Linked DNA regions of Homo sapiens: regions 1, 2 and 3 are each linked to region 4. Evidence: promoter capture Hi-C in 16 types of primary human blood cells and fetal thymus (Javierre and others, 2016). All regions are on one chromosome and are shown on one strand. The core of a region is centred on a gene start or on the middle of the fragment in contact, and the rest is flanking DNA. Distances in the headings are between cores, read along the strand shown. Region 1 holds the start of GPR162 (G protein-coupled receptor 162). Region 2 overlaps LAG3 (lymphocyte activating 3). Region 3 overlaps CD4 (CD4 molecule). Region 4 holds the start of ACRBP (acrosin binding protein).

What was found. The method cuts DNA at HindIII sites, captures the fragments that hold promoters and counts their contacts. A CHiCAGO score of 5 or more calls a contact.
Region 1: the fragment with the promoter of GPR162 here is called in contact with the fragment with the promoter of ACRBP in region 4 in 12 of 17 cell types (naive CD4 T cells, endothelial precursors, activated CD4 T cells and 9 more); the score reaches 10.1 in naive CD4 T cells.
Region 2: a contact is called between a fragment that was not itself captured here and the fragment with the promoter of ACRBP in region 4, in 17 of 17 cell types (naive CD4 T cells, activated CD4 T cells, naive CD8 T cells and 14 more). The highest score is 20.0, in naive CD4 T cells.
Region 3: a fragment that was not itself captured here is called in contact with the fragment with the promoter of ACRBP in region 4 in 14 of 17 cell types (activated CD4 T cells, naive CD4 T cells, non-activated CD4 T cells and 11 more); the score reaches 23.1 in activated CD4 T cells.

What each region holds. Positions count from the first base shown.
Region 1 is chr12:6,819,937-6,823,283 of GRCh38, forward strand. It overlaps GPR162 (G protein-coupled receptor 162), which reads left to right and starts at 1,885. Exons shown (of 5, transcript NM_019858.2): 1 at 1,885-1,964. CD4 (CD4 molecule) reads left to right here. Exons shown (of 10, transcript NM_000616.5): 10 at 1-863. RefSeq lists an enhancer at 896-1,868. The HindIII fragment of the contact is 21,739 bases long and covers 1-3,347 here.
Region 2 is chr12:6,775,961-6,779,203 of GRCh38, forward strand. It overlaps LAG3 (lymphocyte activating 3), which reads left to right. Exons shown (of 8, transcript NM_002286.6): 6 at 1,304-1,546; 7 at 1,831-1,961; 8 at 2,284-2,495. The coding sequence ends at 2,430. Among named protein-coding and RNA genes, the nearest start is that of LAG3, 5.1 kb to the left of the region's middle. RefSeq lists enhancers at 2,354-3,004, 2,753-2,802, 3,005-3,243. The HindIII fragment of the contact is 5,544 bases long and covers 1-3,243 here.
Region 3 is chr12:6,796,132-6,799,432 of GRCh38, forward strand. The region is part of intron 1 of CD4 (CD4 molecule); the gene reads left to right. Among named protein-coding and RNA genes, the nearest start is that of CD4, 8.3 kb to the left of the region's middle. The HindIII fragment of the contact is 2,728 bases long and covers 473-3,200 here.
Region 4 is chr12:6,646,131-6,649,253 of GRCh38, forward strand. ACRBP (acrosin binding protein) reads right to left here and starts at 1,302. Exons shown (of 10, transcript NM_032489.3): 1 at 1,194-1,302; 2 at 664-882; 3 at 353-447. The coding sequence starts at 1,236. RefSeq lists enhancers at 723-1,236, 1,160-1,229. The HindIII fragment of the contact is 16,958 bases long and covers 1-3,123 here.

The DNA of each region.
Region 1 (3,347 bases), core at 635-3,134, 170 kb after region 4:
TCTGTCTATTTGAGACTTAGAAAAATCCTACAAGGCTGGCAGTGACAGAACTAAGATGATCATCTCCAGTTTATAGACCAGAACCAGAGCTCAGAGAGGCTAGATGATTGATTACCAAGTGCCGGACTAGCAAGTGCTGGAGTCGGGACTAACCCAGGTCCCTTGTCCCAAGTTCCACTGCTGCCTCTTGAATGCAGGGACAAATGCCACACGGCTCTCACCAGTGGCTAGTGGTGGGTACTCAATGTGTACTTTTGGGTTCACAGAAGCACAGCACCCATGGGAAGGGTCCATCTCAGAGAATTTACGAGCAGGGATGAAGGCCTCCCTGTCTAAAATCCCTCCTTCATCCCCCGCTGGTGGCAGAATCTGTTACCAGAGGACAAAGCCTTTGGCTCTTCTAATCAGAGCGCAAGCTGGGAGCACAGGCACTGCAGGAGAGAATGCCCAGTGACCAGTCACTGACCCTGTGCAGAACCTCCTGGAAGCGAGCTTTGCTGGGAGAGGGGGTAGCTAGCCTGAGAGGGAACCCTCTAAGGGACCTCAAAGGTGATTGTGCCAGGCTCTGCGCCTGCCCCACACCCTCCCTTACCCTCCTCCAGACCATTCAGGACACAGGGAAATCAGGGTTACAAATCTTCTTGATCCACTTCTCTCAGGATCCCCTCTCTTCCTACCCTTCCTCACCACTTCCCTCAGTCCCAACTCCTTTTCCCTATTTCCTTCTCCTCCTGTCTTTAAAGCCTGCCTCTTCCAGGAAGACCCCCCTATTGCTGCTGGGGCTCCCCATTTGCTTACTTTGCATTTGTGCCCACTCTCCACCCCTGCTCCCCTGAGCTGAAATAAAAATACAATAAACTTACTATAAAGATGCTCTTCGTGTGTGTGTGTGTGTGTGTGTGTGTGTGTGTGTGTGTGTGAGAGAGAGAGAGAGAGAGAGACCCCTTCTCTGGGGACCAGGAATCTTCTGGTCTTTGGGGTCGGACCCAGAGGAGAGGTTGCTGGGCGTGCCCCAGGAAGGAGATGAAGTTTCCCTGGAGAGGGAAAAATTCTGTGGAGGCTGGCTACCCACCTCCACAACCCACAGGGCTCTGTGTGGGCCTGTGTGTGTGTGAGGCTGAGACTCTGTAATTACATGTGTGTGATATACCGTGGGGGAGAGACTCAGGGTTGTGTGAGCTCTCCTGGTGTATGTGTGTGGCAGAGAAAAAGGACTATGAGAAACTGTAACATGTGTGTGCAAATTGTATCCCCAACATATGTGTTTGTGTTCCAGGAGGAGGAGGCAGAGTGTGTGTGTCTGTGTGCATGCATGCGCCCACATCCTTTTAGCTTGTGCACAACCACCCCCAACTCCACAAGCAGCCCCAGTGTGCACCACAAGCCCCCTCACTCCCAAACCCAAGGCCCAGCCCTCACACAGATACACACAGTGACACACGCTTCCTCCTCCCCGAACAGCTAGCTCCTCAGTCCCCAACAACACCAGCTGCCTCTTGGAGCTTGTGTTCGTGTTGAAAACGGGAAGGGGTGGGGGCAGGACATGAACCATTTCACCAATGAAGCCGGTTCCCAGCCATCCTCCTCACCGCCCTCCCTCTCAGCGCCTTCCTTGCCCCTCCTCCCCGAGTCACCACCGTCCAGTTCCCCACCCTGCACTCGTTTCCCGCCCCCCCCCGCCCCCCACAAAGCTGTCCTGCCTTCCCTCTGGCCTGGGCTCACTGGCAGGACGACCCCGGGAGAGAGGGTCCTGGAGAGTGAGAGGGGCAGAGACCGAGTGAGCCGTGGGCTGAGCCTGGGAGGCCGGGACTGAGGGGGAGGAGGGAGGCCCGGGGGAAGGGAGGGAGGGAGAGAGGGAAGGAGGGAGGAGGGCGGGCGAGCTGGAGCCGGCAGGCAGCGGGAGCCCGAGAGAGCCGCGTCGGGAGTGCGGTCTCCATGGCAGTGCTGGGCGCAGCCGGAGAGAGGTAAGACGACCCCTGCCTGCCCCGTCCCCTGTGTTGCCTCCCTTTCCCCCTCAAGCTGCCTCCTCTCCCCTAGGCCGGCCCCTCCTCCCCAGCCACCTGCTGTTTCTGCCCTGGAGAACCTGGAGGGGGACAGGAGGGAGGAGCCGCCTGACCTTACCCCTTCACCCCAAAGGGCGAGGGACCCCGTCGGCCAGGGAACCTCCCAGATCCCCCTTCCCACCTTCCTCTGATCTCTCCCTGTCCTTCACCTCCCTCTCTCTGTCCTTCACATCTTTCCTGCCTCCTTCCCTCTCTGACTCCCTATCTCTTTCATCCTGAGCCCACCAGCTGGGCCTGGGTGGAGGTGGGTGGGAAGGGGTCCAGGGCTGTAGGAGAGGACACTGGGGGCTGCTCTTGGCCAAGTCCCTCCACCTCCCTCTGGCTGGCCATTGCCATGGCAACTAGGGTGTACTGGGCTCCGGAGGGAAGCCAAGGGTGGGGGTGGACCAGGACCTCTTGGGGAAAGCAAGGGTCTGAGCTGCTTCCATGGGAAACAGACCCTTTCACTGCTGTGCCCCATTTTTACCCCACTTACCCTAAAGCCATTATGTGCTTCCTTACAGCCCCACTCTGTTCAGGGTTTCACCCGATTCCCTTACCCCCCTTCCCAGGGCTCACTGAAGCTCAGCATCACGCACTAAAACTGGGACCATCCTTCCTCCCATGAGAGGGAAACTGAGGCTCTGGGCCAGGGAGGAAGAGTCAAGGTCTCCCCACGGGGAGTCAGCACCTTATTGAACATTTGGCTTTTCTTCTCAGCCTCCTATTCCCTGCTCCCTCCCTCCCTCCCTCCTCCAGTCCCTCCTCCCTCCAAAGCCTCCTCTCCAGGGGGTTTGAGCTTTTCCTGCTATTTTCAGATACTACCACTTTGCCCCCTCTTTCTCTTCTGCTCAAACTCTCCTCCTTCTCCCTAGTTCCCCCTCTTTCCATTTCTGGATGCTTCTGATGTCAGCGGTTTCCCCGCCTTCAGGTTCCCTAGCACCCCCTTCGGTCCCAGACTCCTTTCTCCCATTTTCCCAGATATGGGTAGCTGGAGGGTGATCACCCAGGTTTGGGGAAGTAGGGGCTAAGCACCAAGACCCCTGCATCCAGGAGACCGGCAGGTAGGGGAGGAAGGCTGTGATGCCATATCCCAGTTCACTGTGAACCCTCAAGAGGAAACCAGTCTTGTGTCTCCCATCAGTAGTTCTGAAGAGACATTTAGGGACTTGAAGATAGGGGTGGAGTAGTGCTGAGCAGGGGATGTTCTAAGAAGGAACCTGGGAGTTCCAGCGGGAGGAGGAAGGGCTAAAGGAGACAGGGAGGTGGGAATACCTTCTTCCCTAGAGGTCTGGAAGAGTGCGG
Region 2 (3,243 bases), core at 315-2,814, 130 kb after region 4:
GGTCAGCAAATATTTACTGAGCAAGGGTTTTCCAAGACAGTATAAAACAAACACAGAAAAAAGAATACTCAGAGAGTATGTGTTGACTGGTTGATAACTATCGGCCATGACAGATTAGCCATGTCTGCAGCACGCACCTGCGGCCACTCAGTAGTAGCACCCCACGGCAGGTGCTTAATAATGTATAGAGATTGAATGAATACGTGAACATGCTAATGGATAATACATCTCCTGAAGGCCAATCCTGAGTTTTCACTTGCTTTCTGGATACCTCTAACTAGATGTTATACCACCTCTCAGCCGCCTTACCCTGAACCCCAGCTTTTTCTCCCACCAATCCCCTTGCTGACTCAGCCTGTCAGTAATCCACTGGTATCCATCCACCTCGAAACCTGGCCTCCTCCTCTCTACATCCCATCAGTCATCAAAGTCCACCAGTTCTTTCTGTCCAATGCCCTCTTGAAGGTCAACTGTTTTATGTAGACGGCTCAATGAGAGAGATACTGTTACCCCGAAGACTTTCTCAAAACAGCTGGGAAGTGCCAGACTCTGGGTCTAAACTCAGGTGTCTGCATCACCAAATCACTCTCCAGGACACTACTCAGATGCCCTTCACCCTTTGTCTCCTCCCACCCACCCATCTCTCACTTTACAACTTGGAGAATGCTCTGTCTCTAGATGAATGGGTCAGTTCCCTGTTCTCTATACCTTCAGAAAGGGGGATGATGTTCATTCAGGGGGCACCACAAGGCAGGGGACACTGATGTGAGCCGCATCATGGAAGTTCCAAAATTGTGAAGTAGATGGGGGTCAGCTCATCTGACTGATTTTGAGGGTTCTGAGCATTTGAGTAGAAAGTAATGTAAAAGAATCTGTAATAGTATTTATTCTGTGGTCTGCCAGGGCCAGTTTGAGTGTGAAGGCAGTAGGGAGCCTGGAAATGTTTTGAGCAGGGGAGGGAGCTGACTAGAGCATTGTCTGAATAAGATAAATGTGGCCGGCAGGGCATGATGGCTCACACCTGTAATCCCAGCACTTTGAAAGGCTGAGACGAGAGGAGCACTTGAGTCCAGGAATTCCAGACTAGCCTGGGCAACATGGTGAAAACGCATCTGTATACAATTTAATAAAAAAATAAATAGAAAGAAAAAGATGAACGTGGCCATGACCCATGATGTCCTTCCCCAACCTCCCCTGGCCAGAACCCAAGTGAGTGCAGGGTGATTGAGACTTGGGGTTCAACCTGTGATATCACGTAAGGGGGGCAGAATCCCAAAAGATCTCTTCCTTCTACTCTTTTCAGTGACTCCCAAATCCTTTGGGTCACCTGGATCCCTGGGGAAGCTGCTTTGTGAGGTGACTCCAGTATCTGGACAAGAACGCTTTGTGTGGAGCTCTCTGGACACCCCATCCCAGAGGAGTTTCTCAGGACCTTGGCTGGAGGCACAGGAGGCCCAGCTCCTTTCCCAGCCTTGGCAATGCCAGCTGTACCAGGGGGAGAGGCTTCTTGGAGCAGCAGTGTACTTCACAGAGCTGTCTAGCCCAGGTCCGAGGCCCCAGAATGCCAGGACCCAAACGCCACAGCAATAATCTTTATCCTCCTTCCAGAACAGCCCCTGCCACCCCCATCCCAGCGCTTTTCTTTCCAGTCAGGGACCTGATCTCTGGCTTTTGCCTAGGGTTGACCCGTTTCCGCCACTGATCAGCTGAATGACCCTGGGACAAGTCCCTTAAACTCTCTGGATCTCATTGCATCTGTAAAGTCTGAGAGAATGACAAAGTGTCCTTTCTAGTCCTGACCCTATGCCTCATCCTGTACTTTCTCCATAGGTGCCCAACGCTCTGGGAGAGCCCCAGGTGCCCTCCCAGCAGGCCACCTCCTGCTGTTTCTCATCCTTGGTGTCCTTTCTCTGCTCCTTTTGGTGACTGGAGCCTTTGGCTTTCACCTTTGGAGAAGACAGGTGAGCCAGGGACATGGCAACCCCGCCCCCCAGCAGCTCCCGCTCTTCCATCCTCAGAGTGCTGATGGCACCCCTTCCTCAGGAAGGTGACCAAATGGGACCCTGAACTTGCCCTCAGAGCCCCCCTTCTTCATAAGCCTCTCACTCCAGGGATGGCTTGTGCCTGGGTAGGCTGGAAGGGGGGTTGGGAGAAAGCCAGGACCAGATGGGGAGGGCAGGGGCGCTGAGAAAAAATAGAGGGACTCAGTGTCCCTCCTCATCCGCTTCCCTTCATCCTTCTCCTCCTTCCGCCCTCCGTCTCTCTCTCCATCTCTTCTCACAGTGGCGACCAAGACGATTTTCTGCCTTAGAGCAAGGGATTCACCCTCCGCAGGCTCAGAGCAAGATAGAGGAGCTGGAGCAAGAACCGGAGCCGGAGCCGGAGCCGGAACCGGAGCCCGAGCCCGAGCCCGAGCCGGAGCAGCTCTGACCTGGAGCTGAGGCAGCCAGCAGATCTCAGCAGCCCAGTCCAAATAAACTCCCTGTCAGCAGCAAGCCTGAGTCTGGCTCTTTCTTGTCCAAGTGAAGGTTCCCGTCTCTCCCCAGCCTCTGAGGGCTCCCTTCTCCCACCCTAGCCTCCTAACCTACTTTCCCCAGCCAGCCTCCCTCACCTTCCCCTTTTCTGTTTCTGGCTGCTTCGTGTTTCTTTCTTGGTCTCTCTCTCTCTTGCGCTCACTCTCTCTTTCTCTCTCCTGGGTAATCATTTCTCTGAAGCTCCCCCGAAAAAGCCCTTGCCCCTTGCCTCCGCAGCTCTCTCCTCCGTCCTTCCACCCACCTTCCACCCACAGTGCGCTGGCTGCCCTGGTTTCCTTGATATTTTTGTCCTTTGGGTCCACCCCACCCCACACTCAGCTGCACTTCAGCACTTGTCCTTGGCCCTCCGGCTGCAGCAGATGCGCACATATGCTCGCGCGCACGTGCACACACACATGCACACACACGCGCGCGCGCACACGCACACACACACACACACACACACACGCGCGGCGCGCAGAGGACTGCCTTGTCAAGTCTTCCAGGAGATCCGGTCTGGAAACCTCTCTGGGCAGCCGGCTGGGGCTCCTACCTCTGCCCCACCCCCCACGTTCCTCAGCCCTTGGAGGCTTTTCTGGTCCCAGGCATGAGAACACACTGCCACCCAGTGGTCACTGCTTGTCACACCCCAACGGAGGTCACTGGGCCGGCTGCGGCAGGCCTGAGGAGTTGAGCAGTGCAGTGGACAAGGCAGGGCACAGACTGCTGT
Region 3 (3,301 bases), core at 587-3,086, 150 kb after region 4:
TCCTCTCTCTATGTCTCAGCTGCTGCCAGGCTTGTGGTGGCCACACAGCTGGCTAGACTGTCATCTCTGTCCTCAAGGGGCTCAAGCTAGAGGAGGAGAGTTGAGAAACCAAATCACTATACACAAAGTAGAAGGTGGAACACACCCAGGAGCATGTCAACGGGGTGCTGTGGGACTTCAGAGTAGGCAGATCGTCACCAAGCTTCAACGGCAAAGATGCCACTGGGGGAAAGAAGGACCAAGCTTGGAAGACAGAGTAAGTCTGGAGGCAAGATCTTGTCTCACCAGCAGGGGCCAGGTCCATGGTGACACCTTCCCCAGGCAGTCACCTCTCTGAGCCCACTTTATATCCTAGGCCTGGATTCAAAGACACTTGAGCCCTGCTCCAGCCTTCCTTTGAGGTGCTATCTTGGTGCCTTTCCTATAATCACTGCTCCAGTCCCATGTCATCTGGTCCCCAGTTACCACATCAAGCTTCCCGAAGCTCCACACAGACCATGCCACATCTTTACCAAAAAATCAGCAGTGGGTCCCCTCACCTCCAGGACAAAGCTCCAGCTCTTCGACCTGCCTGTCAATATTTGCAATCACTGCCTGCACAAATTAGCTGGGTGTTGTCATGAAAGGATCACTTGAGCCCAGGAGTTCCAGGCTGCAATGACCTATGATTGAACCACTGCACTCTGGCCTGGGTGACAGAGTGGATCTAAACTAAAAATAAAAAGATTTACAGTCAAGCCTCAAAGGCTTTTCCCATACCTTCTTCCACCATCACCTCCCTGAGCCCTCTCTTTCCTCCGAAGCCTCCTCGCACATCCCTACCACCTTTGCACACCTCAGAATGGGGACACCTCTCCCCTTTCCTCTCCATCTAACTTATGGTTTTCAAACTTGAGCGTGATCAGTTACCTGGAGATTTGTGAAAACCCAGATGACTAGACCCACCCCCAGTTTCTGATTCAGCAGGTCTGGGGTGGGGCCGAGGATCTGCATTTCTAACAAGTTCCCAGGTCATGTTGCCGCTGCTACTGATCCAGGACTTTGGGAATCGCTCCTCTAATCTACAGCTGTCCATTCCCCATGGTCCATTCAGAGCCTCTCTGCCCTGCCCCCACCACCCCCAGTCTCGCCTGTCTGCCAAGCGCACAGGAAACTCTCCTTCATCCAAACCCTGGACCAACGCCTTCTGCTTGGCCCACTCAGAGGCCTTGTAGGGTTGGTCTGATATTGGACAGAGAAATGGCCCTCTGCTCTTTCTCCCCTGACCTCTCTGAAGGGGGCCTGCCCCTCCACACCTGTGGGTATTTCTCGCAAGGTGGAGACAAGAGACTGAGAAAAGAAATAAGACACAGAGAAAGTATAGAGGAATAAAAGTGGGCCCAGGGGACCGGCGCTCAGCAAGTGAGGACCTGCACCGGTGCTGGTCTCTGAGTTCCCTCAGTATTTATTGATCACTATCTTTACTATCTCCGCGAGGGGAATGTGGTGGGGCTATAGGGTGAAGGTGAGGAGAGGGTCAGCAGAAAAACATATGAGCAAAGACTCTGTGTCATAAATAAGTTTAAGGAAAGGTGCTGTGCCTGGATGTGCTAGATTTATGTTTAACTTTACACAAACATCTCAGTGTAGTAAAGAGTAACAGAGCAGTATTGCCGCCATGATGTCTCGCCTCCAGACATAAGGCAGTTTTCTCCTCTCTCAAAATAGAATGTATGATCGGTTTTACACCGGGTCATTCCATTCCCAGGGACGAGCAGGAGACAGATGCCTTCCTCTTATCTCAACCGAATAGAGGCCTTCCTCCTTCACTAATCCTCCTCAGCACAGACCCTTTACGGGTGTCGGGCTGGGGGGCTGTAAGGTCTTTCCCTTCCCATGAGGCCATATCTCAGGCTGTCTCAGTGGGGGGAAACCTGGACAATACCTAGGCTTTCTCGGGCAGGGGTTCCTGCGGCCTTCCACAGTGTATTGTGTCTCTGGTTAATAGAGAACGGAGAATGGTGATGACTTTCACCAAGCACACTGCCTGCAAGAACTTTTCTTTTTTTTTTTTTTTGAGACAGAGTCTTGCTCTGTCGCCCAGGCTGGAGTGCAGTGGCGCGATCTCGGCTCACTGCCACCTCTGCCTCCCGGGTTCACGCCATTCTCCTGCCTCAGCCTCCCGAGTAGCTGGGACTACAGGCGCCCGCCACCACGCCCGGCTAATTTTTTTGTATTTTTTTAGTAGAGATGGGGTTTCACCGTGTTCACCAGGATGGTCTCGATCTCCTGACCTCATGATCCGCCCGCCTTGGCCTCCCAAAATGCTGGGATTACACGTGTGAGGCAAGAACTTTTTAAAAGTGCATCTTGCGCAGCCCTAGATCCATTAAACCTTGATTCAATACAGGACATGTTTTTGTGAGCACAGGGTTGGGACAAAAGTTACAGATTAACAGCATCTCAAAGCAGAACAATTTTTCTTAGTACAGATCAAAATGGAGTTTCTTATGTCTTCCTTTTTCTACATAGACACAGTAACAATCTGATCTCTCTTTCTTTTCCCCATACCTCTCACGCTGTATCAGGCCCCAATTCTTGGGAACGTCACCTTAGAACTGTCCCACACATTTCTACAGCCACTTGGCTCAGGCCCTTTGCTGACCAGGATGGTTGCAGTTCTGCCTTTGGTGCCTCGCCTCCTCCAGTTCTTTCACTCAGCAGCTGCAGGGGTCCACGTGGCAAATCTAATAATCTTCTTCTCTATAGAAAATCCTCTGCTGGCTCTCTAGTGCCCAGGATCCAGTCCCAGCATCTCAGCACGGCCTTCAAGCATTTCCACGTCCTGGCCTGGCTCCATGGTCTCCCCGCCAATTTGCCACCTTCTCCATGCATCCTTTTCTGATCCCCTCCTCACTCATCCCAGCAAAGAACCCCCTCCTGGCCTGAGCATAGCATTTCGTGGTGTGTATCTCAGAGCATCCAGTTAGGGGTGTGCAAGTTTACTTTGTTACTGGCTGATGTTGTGAAGTCCCAAGTTGTTGGTGCCGCAAACAAAAAATTGGACATGACACACACAAATAGCAAAGCAGCAAAAGTTTATTAAGCACAGTACGATCCACTATGGATCAAGGATGACCTGCGAATGGTATCAGCATCACTTTGCTATATTTCATGGCCTTTTCTATGTGTTTTTTTTCTCTTTTTCCTCAAGCTGCCTAAGCTTTAGCCAGCATGTGCCTTTTGGTTGACAGGTGGGTTGCTTAGTTTCTTGGCCTCTGTGTGTTTACGTGTCATTTCCTTCCCATAGTTTTAAGTACAT
Region 4 (3,123 bases), core at 52-2,551:
TTTTTTTTTTTTTGTATTTTTAGTAGAAACGGGGTTTCACCATGTTGGCCAGGCTGGTCTCGAACTCCTGACTTCAGGTGATCTGCCCATCTCGGGCTCCCAAAGTGCTGAGATTACAGGCATGAGCCACCATGCCCAGTCTCTTCTCTACTTTTCTTGCAGTAACAGAATTGTTCAATCTGAATATCCAAGGTGAGACTGTATTCATATATAATCTGGGTAAATGACTGGCAAAATGGCAGGGAAGGAGGAGCTAAGGATGACTCTCCTGGAACCCTTCCTCAACTCCCCACTGCTGCCGCCTCTCCCTTGGCCCTGGGGCACCAAATCCAACCTTTGTCCTGGGCCTCACCTTGGCATAGTAGACGTGGTTGGAGCAACGGTAGTGAGTGAACTGGCAGAAAGACTCAAACCAGGAGGCATAAGGGAGGTTGGAGCAGACAGCACCTGAGAAAGGGCAGGGGTGGAGAAGATGAACCCGTGGGGAGCTTGGGGTGGGGCTGTGGGCAATGGACTCCACGCCATGGGGAGGGTGGAGAGTACGAGCTCATGGTGTGGTGCCAGCCATGCCCTTCCCCGCCTCACATGAGCACAGGGGTTTTTGCCCTGAGGTTTGGGTGAACACTCTGGGTGCCTCGGTTTCCCCCCTAGTCTGGCCCTCACCATCGGGCACTAAGCCGTGGTTTTCATATTGGTCCAGCTGGACGAGTGTGGGATTCCGGCAGCCGTGGGTTGCACGGAGACGGCAGGTAGTCTCTGCCTTCCAGGTTGGAGTCAGCAGTGCGAAGAAGCGTTCGTATTCGGTAGGAGAGAGAGGGCTGCCTGGAGTGGAGGCCTGAGTCGAATCCTGGGCTGCGGCAGGTGCCAGAGGCAGGAGCAGCACTGCGGAGCGGGCGAACGGATGATGGAAGGACCGAACCCCAAAACCCGCTCCGAGACCAGGACAGACAGACCCAGACTGGCAAATTAGGAACGGGGTGAGGGTTATCCCTGCTGACCAGGGCGGGGGGAGTCTAGAGACAGAGGCAAAGGTCCGGCCGCGGGCGGGGGGAGATGGGAGTATCCCAGGACCTAGGGAGCCGACCCAGCGCGACCACCATGAGGAAGCGATCCAGAAACCGTAAAAGCAGAGCTCTCGGGAGGGAGAGGACTAGCCCGGGGAGAGTCTGTTGGAGCAGGTGTAAACCTCTCACCCTTCAGGAGTGAGGGAAGGAAGCCAGCGGCTGGCTTCCTCATGGCCGGAGAAGATCCGCCCGCGTCCCGTGGACACAAGCCGCCTCTAACGGGCCAAGCCGCAGAGAGAGCCGCAGGCGCGGGGCGGGGCGCACGCGGGCACCGCCCACGCGTCACAAAGAGCGGGCCGGGGCGGGGCCTCGACAGCCGGGCTCTCAGGGCCCTAAAGTGGCCAGAGCCCATCCAGATGGTAGGAATGGCAAACAGCTACCTTCACTTAGCGTCTTTTTCTTTTTTTTTTGAGACGGAGTCCTACTCTGTCGCCCAGGCTGGAGTGCAGTGGTGCGATCTCGGCTCACTACAACCTCGGCGTCCCAGGTTCAAGTGATTCTCCTGCCTCAGCCTCCCGAGTAGCTGGGACTATAGGTGCACGCCACCACGCCCAGCTAATTTTTGTATTTTTAGTAGAGATGGTATTTCACCATGCTGGCCAGATGGTCTCGATCTCTTGACCTTGTGATCCGCCCACCTCGGCCTCCCAAAGTGCTGGGATTACAGGCGTGAGCCACCATGCCCGGCCTAATTTTTGTATTTTTAGTAGAGACTGGGTTTCACCATGTTGGCCAGGCTGGTCTTGAACTCCTGACTTCAAATGATCTGCCCACCTCGGCCTCCCAAAGTGCTGGGATTACAGGTGTGAGCCACCGTAGCCAGCCACTTAGCATCTTTACATGCACTACCTTACGTAATTGCCATAGGAATCCCATAAGGTAGATACACTATCATTCGTTTTACAGATGAGAAATCGGGGCTTAGGGAAGCAACTCGCCCAACAAACAGGTCGTGAGGTCTAGAGCTAAGCGCAGGCAGAGATAGAATGTGCAAAACCAAGTCAAGGCCTATCTGGGTAGGAACTAGACAGGGCGCCTCCATGAGCAAAATGGGTCCAAGGGGAAAACAAGAGGGTGGCTCAGTGGTCTACGAAAGTGGTTTCCAAGGGAGAATCGAGTAAGACAGTCCACTGAGGTATGGGAGGAGAACTTTTGCTTTTGTATCTGTTTTGTGTTTAAAATGAGAAATTCCAGCCTGGGCAACAGGGCGAAACCTCGTCTCTACAAAAAGTACAAAAAATTAGCCAAGCGTGGTGGCACGTGCCTGTAGTCCCAGTTTCTTGGGGGGCTGAGATGGGAGGATCGCTTGAGCCCATGAGGCCAAGGCTGCAGTGAGGTGCAATCGGGCCACTGCTCTCCAGCCTGGGTGACAAAGTGAGACCCTGTCCCCACCCAAAAGCAAAAGTAAAAAAGAAAAATAAAACAAGAAATTGTCTTGGGCCAGACTTGGTGGCTCACGCCTGTAATCCCAGCATTTGGGAAGTCAAGGCGGGTGGATTCCTTGAGCCCAGGAGTTCCAGACCAGCCTGGGCAACATGGCGAAACCCTGTCTCTACAAAAAATACAAAAATTGTCAGGTGTGGTGGTGTGCGCCTGTTGTCCCACTTACTACTTGGGGAGGCTGAGGTAGGAGGATCACCTGAGTCTTCAGAGGTCAAGGCTGCAGTGAGCTGAGATCTCACCACTGTGCTCCAGCCTGGGTGACAAAGTGAGACCCTGTCTCAAAAATAAAATAAAATAAAATAAATTAATAAAATAGAGACCAGGCACTGTGGCTCATTCCTGGAATTCCAGCACTTTGGGAGGCCAAGGAGGGTGGATCTCTTGAGGCCAGGAGTTTGAGACCAGCCTGGCCAAAATGGTGAAACTTGGCCGGTGCGATGGCTCATGCCTGTAATCCTAGCACTTTGGGAGACCAAGGCAGGCAGATCACGAGGTCAGGAGATCAAGACCATCCTAGCTAACACGGTGAAACCCTGTCTCTACTAAAAATACAAAAAATTAGCCAGGCGTGGTGGCATGTGCCTGTAGTCCCAGCTACTCGGGAGGCTGAGGCAGG